Linked DNA regions of Homo sapiens: regions 1, 2 and 3 are each linked to region 4. Evidence: promoter capture Hi-C in 16 types of primary human blood cells and fetal thymus (Javierre and others, 2016). All regions are on one chromosome and are shown on one strand. Each heading gives the region's core, a stretch centred on a gene start or on the middle of the fragment in contact. The rest is flanking DNA. Distances are from core to core; before and after follow the strand shown. Region 1 has its middle 110 kb from the start of GAREM1. Region 2 has its middle 89 kb from the start of GAREM1. Region 3 has its middle 69 kb from the start of GAREM1. Region 4 holds the start of MEP1B (meprin A subunit beta).

What was found. Contacts are between HindIII fragments. The CHiCAGO score rates a contact against its expected background, and 5 or more counts as called.
Region 1: a fragment that was not itself captured here is called in contact with the fragment with the promoter of MEP1B in region 4 in 2 of 17 cell types (total CD4 T cells and naive CD8 T cells); the score reaches 5.1 in total CD4 T cells.
Region 2: a contact is called between a fragment that was not itself captured here and the fragment with the promoter of MEP1B in region 4, in 4 of 17 cell types (activated CD4 T cells, non-activated CD4 T cells, naive CD8 T cells and 1 more). The highest score is 8.7, in activated CD4 T cells.
Region 3: a fragment that was not itself captured here is called in contact with the fragment with the promoter of MEP1B in region 4 in 1 of 17 cell types (total CD4 T cells); the score reaches 5.1 in total CD4 T cells.

What each region holds. Positions count from the first base shown.
Region 1 is chr18:32,574,243-32,577,769 of GRCh38, forward strand. No RefSeq gene overlaps it. Among named protein-coding and RNA genes, the nearest start is that of GAREM1, 110 kb to the left of the region's middle. The HindIII fragment of the contact is 1,756 bases long and covers 1,215-2,970 here.
Region 2 is chr18:32,558,419-32,561,635 of GRCh38, forward strand. No RefSeq gene overlaps it. Among named protein-coding and RNA genes, the nearest start is that of GAREM1, 89 kb to the left of the region's middle. The HindIII fragment of the contact is 4,086 bases long and covers 1-3,217 here.
Region 3 is chr18:32,538,010-32,541,178 of GRCh38, forward strand. No RefSeq gene overlaps it. Among named protein-coding and RNA genes, the nearest start is that of GAREM1, 69 kb to the left of the region's middle. The HindIII fragment of the contact is 4,340 bases long and covers 1-3,169 here.
Region 4 is chr18:32,188,356-32,191,916 of GRCh38, forward strand. It overlaps MEP1B (meprin A subunit beta), which reads left to right and starts at 1,684. Exons shown (of 15, transcript NM_005925.3): 1 at 1,684-1,778; 2 at 3,467-3,485. The coding sequence starts at 1,716. The HindIII fragment of the contact is 13,410 bases long and covers 1-3,561 here.

The DNA of each region.
Region 1 (3,527 bases), core at 843-3,342, 390 kb after region 4:
TTTGATATGAATAATAGTGATGATAATAACCATCCTGCAGGGTTGCCACCTTTATACTAGACATAGGAAATTTAGTTTGCTACAGTATTGCCACTTGATTTGGTTTGGTTCTGTGTTCTCATCCAAATCTTACCTTGAATTGTAATAATCCTCATGAGTTGAGGGAGGGACCTGGTGGGAGGTAATTGAATCATGGGGGTGGGTTTTTCCCAAGCTGTTCTCATGATAGTGAGTAAGTCTCATGAGATCCGATGGTTTTATAAAGGGGAGTTCCCCTGCACATGCCCTCTTGCCTGCAGCCATGTAAGACATCCCTTTGCTGTTCCTTCATCTTCTGCCATGATTGTGAGGCCTCCCCAGTCATGTGGAGCTGTGAATCCATTAAATCTGTTTCCTTTATAAATTACCCAGTCTCGGGTATGTCTTTATCAGCAGCGTGAGAACAGACTAATACACCACTCCTATTATGTTAGCTTCCTCCTCTCACATTTGGGAGCCTCTTTGTGCATTAGGGCTTGTGATCACCTGGGTACAGGTTGTTACTTTCAAGAGAAGTTCAGCGTTTTTTGTAGTTGAAAAATACATGAGGAAATGTTAAAGGAACCAGAGAAAAAATATGTAGTGCCCTGGAAAAACCTGATCAACTCACTGTGTGTCCTTAGCCAAGTCACCTAACCTCTTTGGGCTTCAGTTCCTTCATATTTTAAGTTGTGGAGGGTGGGATGAAAATGAGAGGGTAATTGCTTGAGATGATTTCTAATATCACTTCCAGCTGTAAAATGTGAGGTTTCTCTAAGATCAGGAGCAAATCTAATTTTTCTTTGACACAAAGGGCTCTTACACAAAAGATAATGAATGGCTTTAATATATCTTCCCTGAGGACAGAAAAGAAGAAATAGGGTGACAGTCTCCCTAGGTTTTGGCTGAAGATAAGGAAGACTTTCCAGACTGTGAGAATTATTTATTGGTGTGAATCAACAAGGGAGCATGGGATATTCGAGTAGGATAGATTTCTCTCTCTTTGGACAAAGTAGGATCCTGAACTGAAGCCTAAGTTTGCAGTGGAGGGAGGGTGAGTGCAGTGGGAGGATGTGGGGTGATGAGAGGGATGAAGAGATTAATGGCCTTTCTTTACTAGTCCCACAGTCTTAGGTGTGACTTGCCAACCTACAGCCCTGGCTTTCAAGCAGTTTGTGCTCCTTGGAGGGTCCACAAGCTTGGTGACTATCAGTGAGTCACCAACAGCTACCAGTGTGCTTTGCATTTTGACACAACAGGACTGTATGGAAGGTAGTAATTAGCACAGAGGACACAACAGGTCTAAGCATCACCATTCCAGTTAGTTTTTACTGTTGTGTTTGAAAAGATAGTAAAATTCTAGAGAAAAACAACAAAACAAAACAACGATTCTTCCTCCCCTAACCAACCCCAAGTTTCCAAATTAAGCAAGCAGTCAATCTAGTAGGGTGACACCACCAGAAGAAAACCCTGTGGACTGTGGAGACCCAGTGAAGCTGTGGCTGTGATCCTCAGCCTTGCAGGCTGTGCTGCCAGCCCTTTGTGAAAAGACCCTGGCCAGGCGCAGTGGCTCACGCCTGTAGTCCCAGCACTTTTGGGAGGCTGAGCAGGGCAGATCACAAGGTCAGGAGATAGAGACCATCCTGGCCAACATGGTGAAACCCCGTCTCTACAAAAAATGCAAAAATTAGCTGGGTGTGGTGGCAGGCGCCTGTAATACCAGCTACTTGGGAGGTTGAGGCAGGAGAATCGCTTGAACCTGGGAGGCAGAGGTTGCAATGAGCCGAGATCATGCCATTGCACTCCAGCCTGGGCGACAAGAGTGAAACTCCGTCTCAAAAAAAAAAAAAAAAAAAAAAGATAATAATAAAAATAAAAAAGGAAAAGACCCTTACTCCCTCATTAGGACGGCAGTTTTGTCAGTTACATTTCGACATATAGCCATTTTGCAAACGATGTTGCTCTTTTAATCTTTATTTTTCTATCAGCATTCCTCCTGTCTCCATGTTCAGTTTCTCTTAAACTCAGTCTCATTGTATCAGCTTTAGCTTTTGTTGCTGTTATTGTTTGTTGTATTTTTTTTCCATGATAGGACTTTTATAGAAAATACTTCATTACATCTCAAGACATTCTTATATTCACCTACTATGGTTTTACTATTTTATCTGCATTTGTTCTCAGCTAATCTTATTACAACTTGGAACCGCTGAGGCCCCACTAGGGGGCTGCAAGTGCAGTAGTCAGAGCCCGCTGTTGCTGCTCTCCCAGCAGAATTCTATCAAGTTAAGACAGACACACTCTTTAGAAAGGACTGCACAGCTGTGGCCGGATTGAACCACAGATCCCATTGTTTTGTCCAGATGCTGGAGCTGATTCTATCTTCAGAAAAAGAGGGCATTCAAAACAAAAACCAGGTTTGCTATTTTAAACGACATTGGATCCTTGGGAGCATTGTTTTCTTTTGGAAGCCGAGAGGAAATGTCAGGAAGAGACAGGATGTATATAGGTGGTGTGAGATGCTTCCGGAGAGTTGTTCAGAGCTTTTTGGATTGGCTTGTATGACTCTTTCCTGCCTCGATTCTCTGCCCTATTTCAATTCACCTGATCCACTGCTGACACATGGATCTTTCAAAAAACTCTGCAGTGATCATGTTATTCCCTATTTCGGGAATCATGAATGATTCCACATTATCTAGACCCAAACTCCCACTCTTTCAGAGTATTAAGGATGCCTTTTAAAGTTAAAAAAAGAGAAGCACCTTATGTCTGCCTTAGAATGGATTCACTACACTTTTAAGTGCGTTTGTATGGAAGTATTCACAACAGCATCTATGTACTTTAAATAAATAGTCCAGCTGGGAATAAGTGTTTATTTTGTCAGCTTATAATGCTTAGCTCACTTCTGAATTCCTGGACCCCTTGTACGAATCCCTTGGTCCCAGGGTTCTATGAAGCTTGGATCAGAAGTAGTACCCTGGAGGACTAGACTCTAAGCATTGCCAGGAAGTGCTCCTTGGTCAGCTTCCTCTGATTCCATTGACTTTCCCCAGGTAGATGTTTTCTAGGTATGTCCTCTCTCCTGTCTTTCTGGAGCCCCCTGGACTATTCTCTGGCCTTCTTCCTCCCTCTTTTCTGTATTTTCAATTGTTCCCTCTTAATTGACACATTCCTTGCAGACCCAGATATACTAAAATATCAACTCATTTAGAATATCCTTGCAATCCTAAATATCCTCCCACTTTCTAGTTAGCAGGTGCTCTGTTTTCTTCCCCTCACAACCATACTCCTCTACTGGATGGTAAAACTCAGTTGTTGAATCCCATCTACACTCAAGTCTCCCAGCTCCTGCCTCGTGTTAGGCACTGATCATTTTATACTATTATACTTTATATACCTTGTCTCCAGTTATATTGATACAAAGTTTCAATTGCTGGTTAAGTGATCTTTACAATAGATGTAACAGATAAGAACTGCGTTAATGACAGATGCTGGCAATAAAGGGTGTTAAA
Region 2 (3,217 bases), core at 187-2,686, 370 kb after region 4:
CAGAGATCTATATATTAATGCCAAATTTCAATTAATCTAGGAAGTTATCTCAAAAGTCTTTAAAAGTCATGACACCTGAGAATTATTATATATAAATTCTAATATTAAGTTTTAATGGAAAATAAATTTTTACAATTATATATTTGACAGAATTAGAAGAGATTTGAATCCTCAAAAGAGAAACTAATTCTAATTCAATGAAGCTGGTTTTCTAGGATTTAATTTGTTATATACTAGAATATGATATGGAAACATTTTGTCTGACAACTGCATAAAGGAGGATATTCTGTTTTAAGACTATAGGTTTATATTTTTGTAAAAATTGACATAAAAACTATAGACCATTATTAATTATAGGGCTTATAAAAGATGTTTTAAGTTAAAAGATGCACTAAATTAAAAGATGGATTAAATATTGCTCTCAGTACATGACTTATGATAGACACCTATAACAATCCTTTTATTTTAATCTTAAACTCTAAAGTCTGGATTATATAAGCATGGAAGTAATTGACAAATGCAGACAAATGGGAGACTTGTGCCTGAATGAAAAACGAATATCTGTTTATAGCATCTAATAAATTTTTTTTTTGAGACAGAGTTTCACTCTTGTTGCCCAGGCTGGAGTGCAGTGGTGCTATCTCGCCTCACTGCAACCTCTGCCTCCCGGGTTCGAGCAATTCTCCTGCCTCAGCCTCCTGAGTAGCTGGGATTACAGGCACGTGCCACCACGCCCAGCTAATTTTTGTATTTTTGGTAGAGATGGGATCTTGCCATGTTGGCCAGGCTGGTCTCAAACTCCTGAGTTCAGGTGATCCACCTGCCTCAGCCTCCCAAAGTGCCAGAATTACAAGCATGAGCCACCGCGCCCAGCCTATAGCATCTAATAATGCTTTGGCAAAGGTTAATAAAATGTTTCTTCTACCTATGTGAATAATATTTAAAAAAACACGTTAACTTAGCTATTACCATATATTCTTTATACTCAAAGTTATACTGTCCTTCTACAGAAGTGATAACGGAAATTTTGACCCTTTCTTCTGAAATCATGCAAAATATGTAACGAAGACACCTTGGCCTGGGTTCCCCCAAACAGCAGAGCCTGAAACAAGGTGTTGCATGCAGATGGCTTATTTTGAGAAGTGATTCCCAAGGAATGGGAGTGGGAGATAGGAAGGGTTGAAAGAAAGAAGAAGGAAAAGCTAATCAAAGGGGAATGTTATTGAGTTGGGTCACCGCTGTGGGCAACTGCAGCTCAGTTCTCTTAGGGACCCTTTGAGGAACCGTGTCAGATATGCCTCAAAATTGCCCACCCGAGGGATGTATTAGAGGAGTATTTAGACTTTGGGTCTTGTTACTGTTGGTCAAGGGTCACCTCATGAGATATTAATTCTACCCCACTTCCAGGTTTATGCAAACATCAAATGTGGCATCCCACATGGCAGCAGCAGAAAGGCACTGGGGTAGAAGATGAGTGATAATGAGGTTACCCCGGAATGCAGTTGGTTGGCTGGCATGCAAAGGTGGGCCTAAAAGGTAGACAATAGGATGCAATAAGTATCTCATCTATAGATCTTCACGCTAAACCGTTATTACTGAAAACGGTGAAAATGCAGAAAGACTGGCTTTGCAGCAAATTGGTGTTTCTCAGCACACTCTGTTTTGTTTTTTACAAACATCTCCTATTGTGAGATACATAGAAAAGGCCTGGAATCTTGCTGGGTGTTGTCACCTGGATGGAATAAGAGTGACACTCTTTCCATTTCTACCCACATTTGTTGCTTTGCCTTCCCAGGCTCCTCTCTCAGAAGTGCTTCATTCTTTGACTATAATTAGGGGTGGAAAAGGTAAGGTTAAAAGAAATAGTCTTCACTTCTGCCTCCCCATTCTCCAGTAGAATGAACATGATGACTGAGGGAGGCTTCACCTATACCAGTGTTTGGAATGTCCCATTCTGTGTCATCCTGGAAGTTTTTACACCATAATTCAATTCACAGTGTGTGACAGGTGAGTCTTTTATTCCTGAAGTGGAAACCCTACAGTACGGAACAGCTGTGGAGGGGAAGGAATGAAAGAGAAACAGGCTAATCCTCCCCCAGGTTCTCAGGCAGGTCAGTTCTAGGAAGATGTACAAATAAAGTTGAAGATATGAAAATTGACTTTTAAAATAATTATCCATATCTCTGTACACCTCAGAAAGTCTTTGTCTTTTTCAGGGATCTTCTCACTTTGTTGGATATCTGAAATGTGTATATGTTTTTTTTGGAAGCAGAGTCTCACTCTGTTGCCCAGGCTGGAGTACAGTAGCACAATCATAGCTCACTGCAGCCTTGACCTTCTGGGCTCAAGTGATCCTCCTGCCTCAGCCTCCTGTGTAGCTGGGACTACAGGCATGTGCCATCATGCCCAGCTAATTTTTTAATTTTTGAGGGAGACAGAGTCTCACTATGTTACTCTGGCTGGTTGCGAACTCCTGGCCTCAAGTGAACTGCCTTGGCCTCTCAAAATGCTGGGATTACAGGCATGAACCACTGGCCCAGCCTGAGGTGTGTATTGTTATTGTTTGCTTTGATGTTGCTCCCTGCAACCCGAATCATGCCTTACTGCCAATTCCTAGAAGCATTTACTCCATTGCCAACAGTGAACTTTTATGGGAAATTGGGCTGGGGAGAAGTTCTAAAGTATGGGCCCGCCCTCCCGCCTGGCCTGCCTGCCTGCCTGCCTGCCTCCCTGCCTCCCTCCCTCCCTCCCTCCCTCCCTCCTTCCCTGCCTCCCTCCCTTCCTTCCTCCCTTCCTTCCTTCCTTCCTTCCTTCCTTCCTCCAGGTTTTGTTCTGTTGCCCAGGCTGGAGTGCAGTGGCGCAATCATGTCTCACTGTAGCCTCTACCTCCTAAGCTCAAGCAATACGCAGCTTCCTGAGTAGCTGGAACCACAGGTGTGTACCGCCTTGCCTGGTAAATTTTTTGTAGAGACAGGGTCTTGCTTTATTTTCCAGGTTGGTCTCAAACTCCTGGCCTCAAGTGATCCTCCTGCCTCAGCCTCCAAAGCATTATGATTATAGACATGAGCCACTGTGCCCAGCTGAGGTTATTTTCTATGTAAATCTCGATGTTCTGGAATTGGTGAGTGAATAAAAGCTGGTGTCCTTGTCTTCATGCTTAACAGTATGGCATTTGAATACTTGCACAGATGCTTTCTTGAAACTTGTTTCTTAAAAA
Region 3 (3,169 bases), core at 141-2,640, 350 kb after region 4:
TGTTTTAATTAGCTGGGCATGGTGATGCTAGCCTGTAGTCCTAGCTACCTGGAAGGCTGAGGCAGGAGGATTGCTTGAGCCCAGTAGTTGGAGGCTGCAGTAAGCTACGATCACACCATTGCACTCCAGCTTAGGTGACAGCAAGACCCTGTCTCTAAAAAAAAAAACAATAAATAAAATGAATGTTCTATCAATTGGTAAATGGCTTCAGTTAGACGATACTGGCACAGCTGTGCTGCATTTGTAATATAGGTTCACAACTGTATTCTTTTTCTCCCTCCTTTGACATTTCCCCCTGTTTGACTTGCTTTTCAGCATGCTTCCCCATCTTCTCTCACAGCATTTATCATAGTACACTGCATTTACAGGTTTGCTTGTCTCCTCCAATAATCTGTAAGCTCCTTAAATACGAACAATGTATTACGTCAGTAGTTCCTAAACTTAAGGTTGGTAGGAATCACCTAGGGATTTTGTTAAAATGCATATTCTGACTCATTAGATGTTGAGTGGGATCTGATTCCTTCCTAATAAGACCCAGGTGACGCCAGTGCTGTTAGTCTAACGGGATTACTATCGGTAGAAAAGTCTTTAACCAACTTTTTATTCCCAGTGCTTAGTAGAGTGTCTGGTACATAGCAGACTTTTTGACAAATGTCTGTTGAATAAATGGCCTATTCTACCTTGCCAAAGTCTTTGCTAATATTTCCTTTCATGTACCTAAATCCCAAGTTATGATTTTAACATCACCCTATATTTTTAGTTTTCCATGTCAATTTCTTAGCTCCTCAAGTTACTCTCTCCTGGACAGTTCACTTTCGTGTCATGCTGAAAACAATTTTGCAAATCCACCTCAACTACCACCATATTCTCCAAATACTTTCTCAAGTCTCCTCCTAGGAAATGATTTTTCTCTCCTTCTACTCAATTTTGCTTCTTCTTTTAAGAAGAGATAGAAAATGTGCCTGTTTTTCTATTTTTCTTAATGTTTTATGTTTACTTCCATTCAAATCTTGCTCGAAGTGCTACCCCTAACCCCAGAACCTCCATACTATACATACTTTAGGAGGAAGGGAATCTAAATCTTCACTTTTTCTAATTACTGTATATGTAATAGGACCCAGTAAGTATTCATGGAACCAATGAATCAATGAACATAGGTGAGTGAGTCAAGGCAAATTTTGTGAAAAGAGGAAGGACCTTGGCTTCCCTTCTTGACTTTTCATATTTGAAGTATTTCAGGGAGAACTTGTAGCTATCATACATATCTTCCAAAGTCTAAATAAGCCAGTAGGTTCCTGTGGAATTTAGATAGAGTGAGTGACAGGTTTTACCAATGATCTCCCAGCTTTTGGCCGGACACAATGGCTCATGCCTGTAATCCCAGCACTTTGGGAGGCCAAGGTGGTGGATCACCTGAGGTCAGGAGTTCGAGACCAGCCTGGCCCACGTGGTGAAACTCTGTCTGTACTAAAAATACAAAAATTAGCCAGGTGTGGTGGCGGGCACCTGTAATCCCAGCTACTCAGGAGGATGAGACAGGAGAATCACTTGAAGCTGGGACGTGGAGGTTGCAATGAGCCAATGTTGCGCCGTTGCACTCCAGCCTGGGTGACTACATCTCAAAAACAAAACAAAACAAAAAACAAAAAGAAAATGATCTCCCAGCTTTTTAAAATATTTAAGATGTGAAAATGGATCAAGGAATGTGAATGTGATAGTGTCACATCTCTGTTCTCCTTGTTCTCCTCCTACTCAGAAGATATAATCGCCCTGAATCATCTTGACACCTGTTTTGTGAAAATACTCCATGTACACATAAAAACCAGTGTTCCAGACAATCATTAAGTCTTTTATTCTGCAGTCATCTCACCAAAGATCAGGGAACTTTGGAGTCTGCTGAACAAAGTGACTCTGTTTCTTGGGATAAAGTGTCCCAGGATCCAGAAATAAGATAACTAGTAGGTAAATGCAAATTTAATTTTAGAACATAGCAACATACATCTTGTATGTAAATTGAGAGTGTCCTTTTAAGTTGACAAAGCATTCTAGCTACGCTTTTATTTACTTTATAAATAAGAGATTGGTCCAAATTTTAAAAGAAAAAGTCTGCCACTGGCTTATTTCATGACCGTGTTCATGAAAAATAGGCTATGAGTTTCCTATTTGAAACTTAGACATGTATAGTACTTGATATCTGAGTAAGGTGAGGTATTGTTTGCTTTAGTAGGTCAAACAGTATTTTCTTCTACTATTTTTACATTATTAATTTGCCTACTGTTTAAATAAATGGGAGGTACGTTTTCTCAAGGCTGGATATATCACCATTTCTGAATTAGTGGGATCTAACTTAATGGATTTTCCACATTCATCCATCATCTATCTTTTCCAGTTTGGTTTTCCATGCCCATATCAATAACCAGATAAACTAGGTGAGATTAGATCCTTATGCAAATAACATAATTTGTAAACACCCAAAATGACTCCTCTGCCTTTGTCTCCAGAGATAATATTCAAATAAAAATTACCATGGATACACAATTAGGTCACTTTATTTTTCTTTAAAGAAAAATATTTTCCTTGTCTTCATTAGGACAAGATTAGTTGAGTCATAAGCAATCAAGACTCTCCAATGTTTCGTAAAATACATCAAAACATTCAACTGATGAGAGTTCAAAGCATTGAGAAATACTGAAGAGGCAGGCATGCAGGCAGGAAGGAGGCTGGCTGGATGGTGTCGGGGTGCAGGTTTATTTGTGTTAAACCAAATGGGGCATTTTGGGCAGAGTTTCTTCTGAGAGAGTTATTTTAGGATTCCAGGTAGTCAATCTTTGTGACTCCCCATCTCTCCCAACTCACCACATTCCTCTCCCCATTTTCCTTAATCTTTATGAGGCACTATTTAGTAAATTATCATGATGAAGGTTGTGGCCATCCCTTGGCACATGTGTGGTGGTGGTTTGGTTTGCTTCCAGTGTTCTCCCCTGTACCACTCTCCCTGCCTCTCCGCCCGCCACTTCCTGCCTTCATTTCTCTCCTTGCAAGCAATCTCAGTCCTTCCAGCTTTTCCAGCTCTTTCCTACCCACTCTTCATCTCCCACTTCCTGGCTGTGTGATCTACTAGGGCCTCATGAGCTGGTAGAGCTTTTAGCAATCATAAAAGTGACAGGTG
Region 4 (3,561 bases), core at 434-2,933:
TATAATAATTGATATTTTAGGTTCCCATTCACATAGATGTCAAAAATTTAATTGCGGCTAATTCAGGATTCACATTTTACCTTTAGGCTTGTGCCTAACCTTAATTAACAGTCCCAATGCATTGGGAAGGTCCCTTATGATCCCTGATGTCATCTATCCTCACAGGCATCCTCTAAAATATCAGTCCCTCTGTCTGGTCCTTATTTGTGATTCTGTGCAGCCTGCAATGGAGACATCCTTATTCCTATCCACATGGCTCTTCAGGCATGACAGCTTTTTCTGATACTTCTATGCTTCCCTTGGCCCCAGGAGTTATTCTCCTCTTCCCAAGATGTGCCTTCTTCTGTAGAGTCCCTTTGCTTCCTTGTAGCTCTAGCCAAGAAACAGGACCATTTGATTTTGGATCCTATAATATATCTAGGGGATCTCAGGGATCAAGTGAAGAACTGACTATAACTACAGTTTTCAGTTTTCCCATTTAATTCTCATCCTACCCTCATAGGGTGGGAAGTGCTGGCTTGTACTCAGGAAGCAACCTCTCAAACTCCTTGTCTATGCTACATGTCTCTTGATAGTCTTCCTATTAGCACAAAATGGGGTGAAGGCTAAGCTGGAGAGGGGAAGGGGAAACTAGAAAAAAATTAGGTTTTTTTTTTTTTTTTGAGATGGAGTGTCATTCTGTTGCCCAGGTTGGAGTGCAGTGGTGTGATCTCGGCTCACCGCAACCTCTGCCTCCCAGGTTCAAGTAATTCTCCTGCCTCAGCCTCTCAAGTAGCTGGGATTACAGACATGCACCACCACACCTGGCTAATTTTTGTATTTCTAGTAGAGATGGGGTTTCACTGTGTTGGCCAGGTTGGGCTTGAACTCCCGACCTCAGGTGGTCCACCCACCTTGACCTCCCAAACTGCTGGGATTACACATGTGAGCCACCATGGCCAAAAATTAGTATTCAAAAAATATTATCCTGCATCTTAAGTAAGTTGAATATGAAGCCATGGGAACTGAGAGAACAGGTTGTTTCTAAAGAGAAATTATCCCAAGAAAAGAAGGAAAAAGTGAGAAAGAATTAAGAGATGGATTGGGAACATTATTTTATTAGAAAATCAGTGACCATTCCTACTTTTATGACCCATGTCCCACCAGTGTTTGCTTGATGGGAATTTTTAGGGATGAGATACATTGCTATGTTACTACTCTATATGTGAATAACCGGTGTGCCTGATTTCTAGCACATTAATGGATTTTATAACTCAATAAATTATAGGCACTCAATAATTTTTATTAAATGAGTGAATGATAAAAAGCAGTGGACATAACTGGATATATTAAAGCAGCATGGGGCTATATGAGAGGAGGAGTTTCATAAGATCAAGATTAAAAATTAATTTGATATATATATTTTTTGCTTAAGTGGTGTTTACTAGTCTAAGGACCAGTACACATACATTAGAGAATGTATTCATTAAGAAGTCTCAGCCAGGCACTTAATTGTTGACACAGGAAAAAAAAAAAAAAGCCAACAAACCAACTCCGCAGAGCTGTGTTAAAAATACTGGACTTTCATCCCTTGATTGGAGGTATTATTACAGCATCAAGCTGACCTGCAATATGGATCATTGAGATCAAAGGCTATAAATTATAATGTTTGCCTTTAAAGAAGTCAATTCAACCCTGAATGTCATAGTTAGCTACTTTCAACTGGAAGCTACAACATGGATTTATGGAATCTGTCTTGGTTTCTGTTCTTGGATGCTCTTCTCGTGATTTCTGGCTTGGTAAGGAAACAGTATATAGAAGATAATTTAAAAATTTTGGGGCAGTTGATATTGATTGTTAAAGAACAAGTGTTTTTTTTTTGTTTGTTTTTTATACATCTTGAAATGTTGATCTCAAATGAGTGTTTCTTCTTGGAGATTAGGGGTGGGCAGTGTGTAGGGAGTGACAAATAGCCACACCAGAGTAGAGACATTGATATAAAGTTATGTTTTCCTTTCAGTTTCATCATTGTGTAACAAGTTTTCTTTTGATGAGATTATAAATGTGTATTTTGAAAATCATTCCATTTTTACTGCTGAATGAAATGCAGATTGCTGCACAGTAACTTGAGACATGAATGAGTGTCACAGGCACCGTCAGTACTTACAAAGTTTTATAACGTGGTATTTCTCTTATGCTTCTTCATCAGTTTAGACTCATCCTTCTACAGTTTGGACTAATCTTTTCTATCAGGTAGTTTGTATCACAAACCAACCCAAGGTTTTAAATGAAGTTTCAAATGGCTAGTGGAAAACCTTCAGTTGTTATTTTAAAATAACAATTATTATATTGGGGTGATATTCTATGAATAGGAACTAGAACATTGCAAACAAGAGATACAGATGAATACATGTTAAAGTGTAATTAGGAATAAATCCTTGATAATTTTATTCTGTAGGTGCACTGGCATTCCTCTATGAGTGTATGCCTGTGTGTGGTTATAGTGTGAAACATGCAAAGCACTTGTTAATGTCAAAAATGATGGTAACCATCCATCCAGTTCATTCCCACATTTTGTTAAACGCTCCAAATGATTCTAGTATTTAGATATGTAAGCTGTATTTGAATAAAATTGTACTTTACACTTTTGTGACAATTTATTATAGCTTACAATGAGCCTTCTTTCACATTATATACTGTAACCCTCACAATACCCATGCAAAGCAGGTACTGACCATATCTTATGGATAGTCTGAGTACCTGGAAGGTGAACTGAATTACCCTTAGTTAGTAGAACTGGTAACATAACCCAGACAGTCCTATGAGCTTTTTAATTCAATCACACTAAGACATTTCTCAGGTTTACTTAGTTGTTTTTTTTTTTTTTCCTTTGGACATGTAGTCTGAGTTTCATTGACCATTTGTGGAGAATCTATTTTCAGAAAAAAAATTAATCACAAAATGTACCCATTGTTTTTCTTAAATATTTGTATTGTCTTTGAAGGCAGAATTATTCTGGGAGAAACATGAATGCAAAATAACTTGATTAATGAGTCTTGAATAACATTTCTTTTTAAAGAATTGTTATAAATTACAGTATTATTTCAACATTGAGAATAAATTATTTGGTTTTTCAAACATTGCTCCATGAATGCTTTAGAAAATCGTGTGTAAAGTGAGCACTTATTTGAGAGCTAGAGTCTTATGTTCTGCCTTTTCCCCCCCAATTTTTGAAGTTGGTTTCTTGTTTCCTTCACCTTCAAATTGATTTAACAGGCAGTTTCATTTTCCATATGAAATGAGAAGACCCTTTGGTCAAAAAGTCATCTTAAACTTCAATTTAGCCATCCTAAATACATGTCAGGAAGTAATCCATAATATTAATGACAAAACAAACAAACAACAAATGGTTAGATATAAACTGAATCCAAGAAGACCATTCCTGGGCATTATAATAATATGTTTTGTTTATGTGTTTATTTCCCAGGCAACTCCAGAAAACTTTGGTGAGTCTATTTTGAGTTTTGTTCTAGGTTATAGAGAACCTAGGACATATTTAATGCTAAACATCATACATAATTA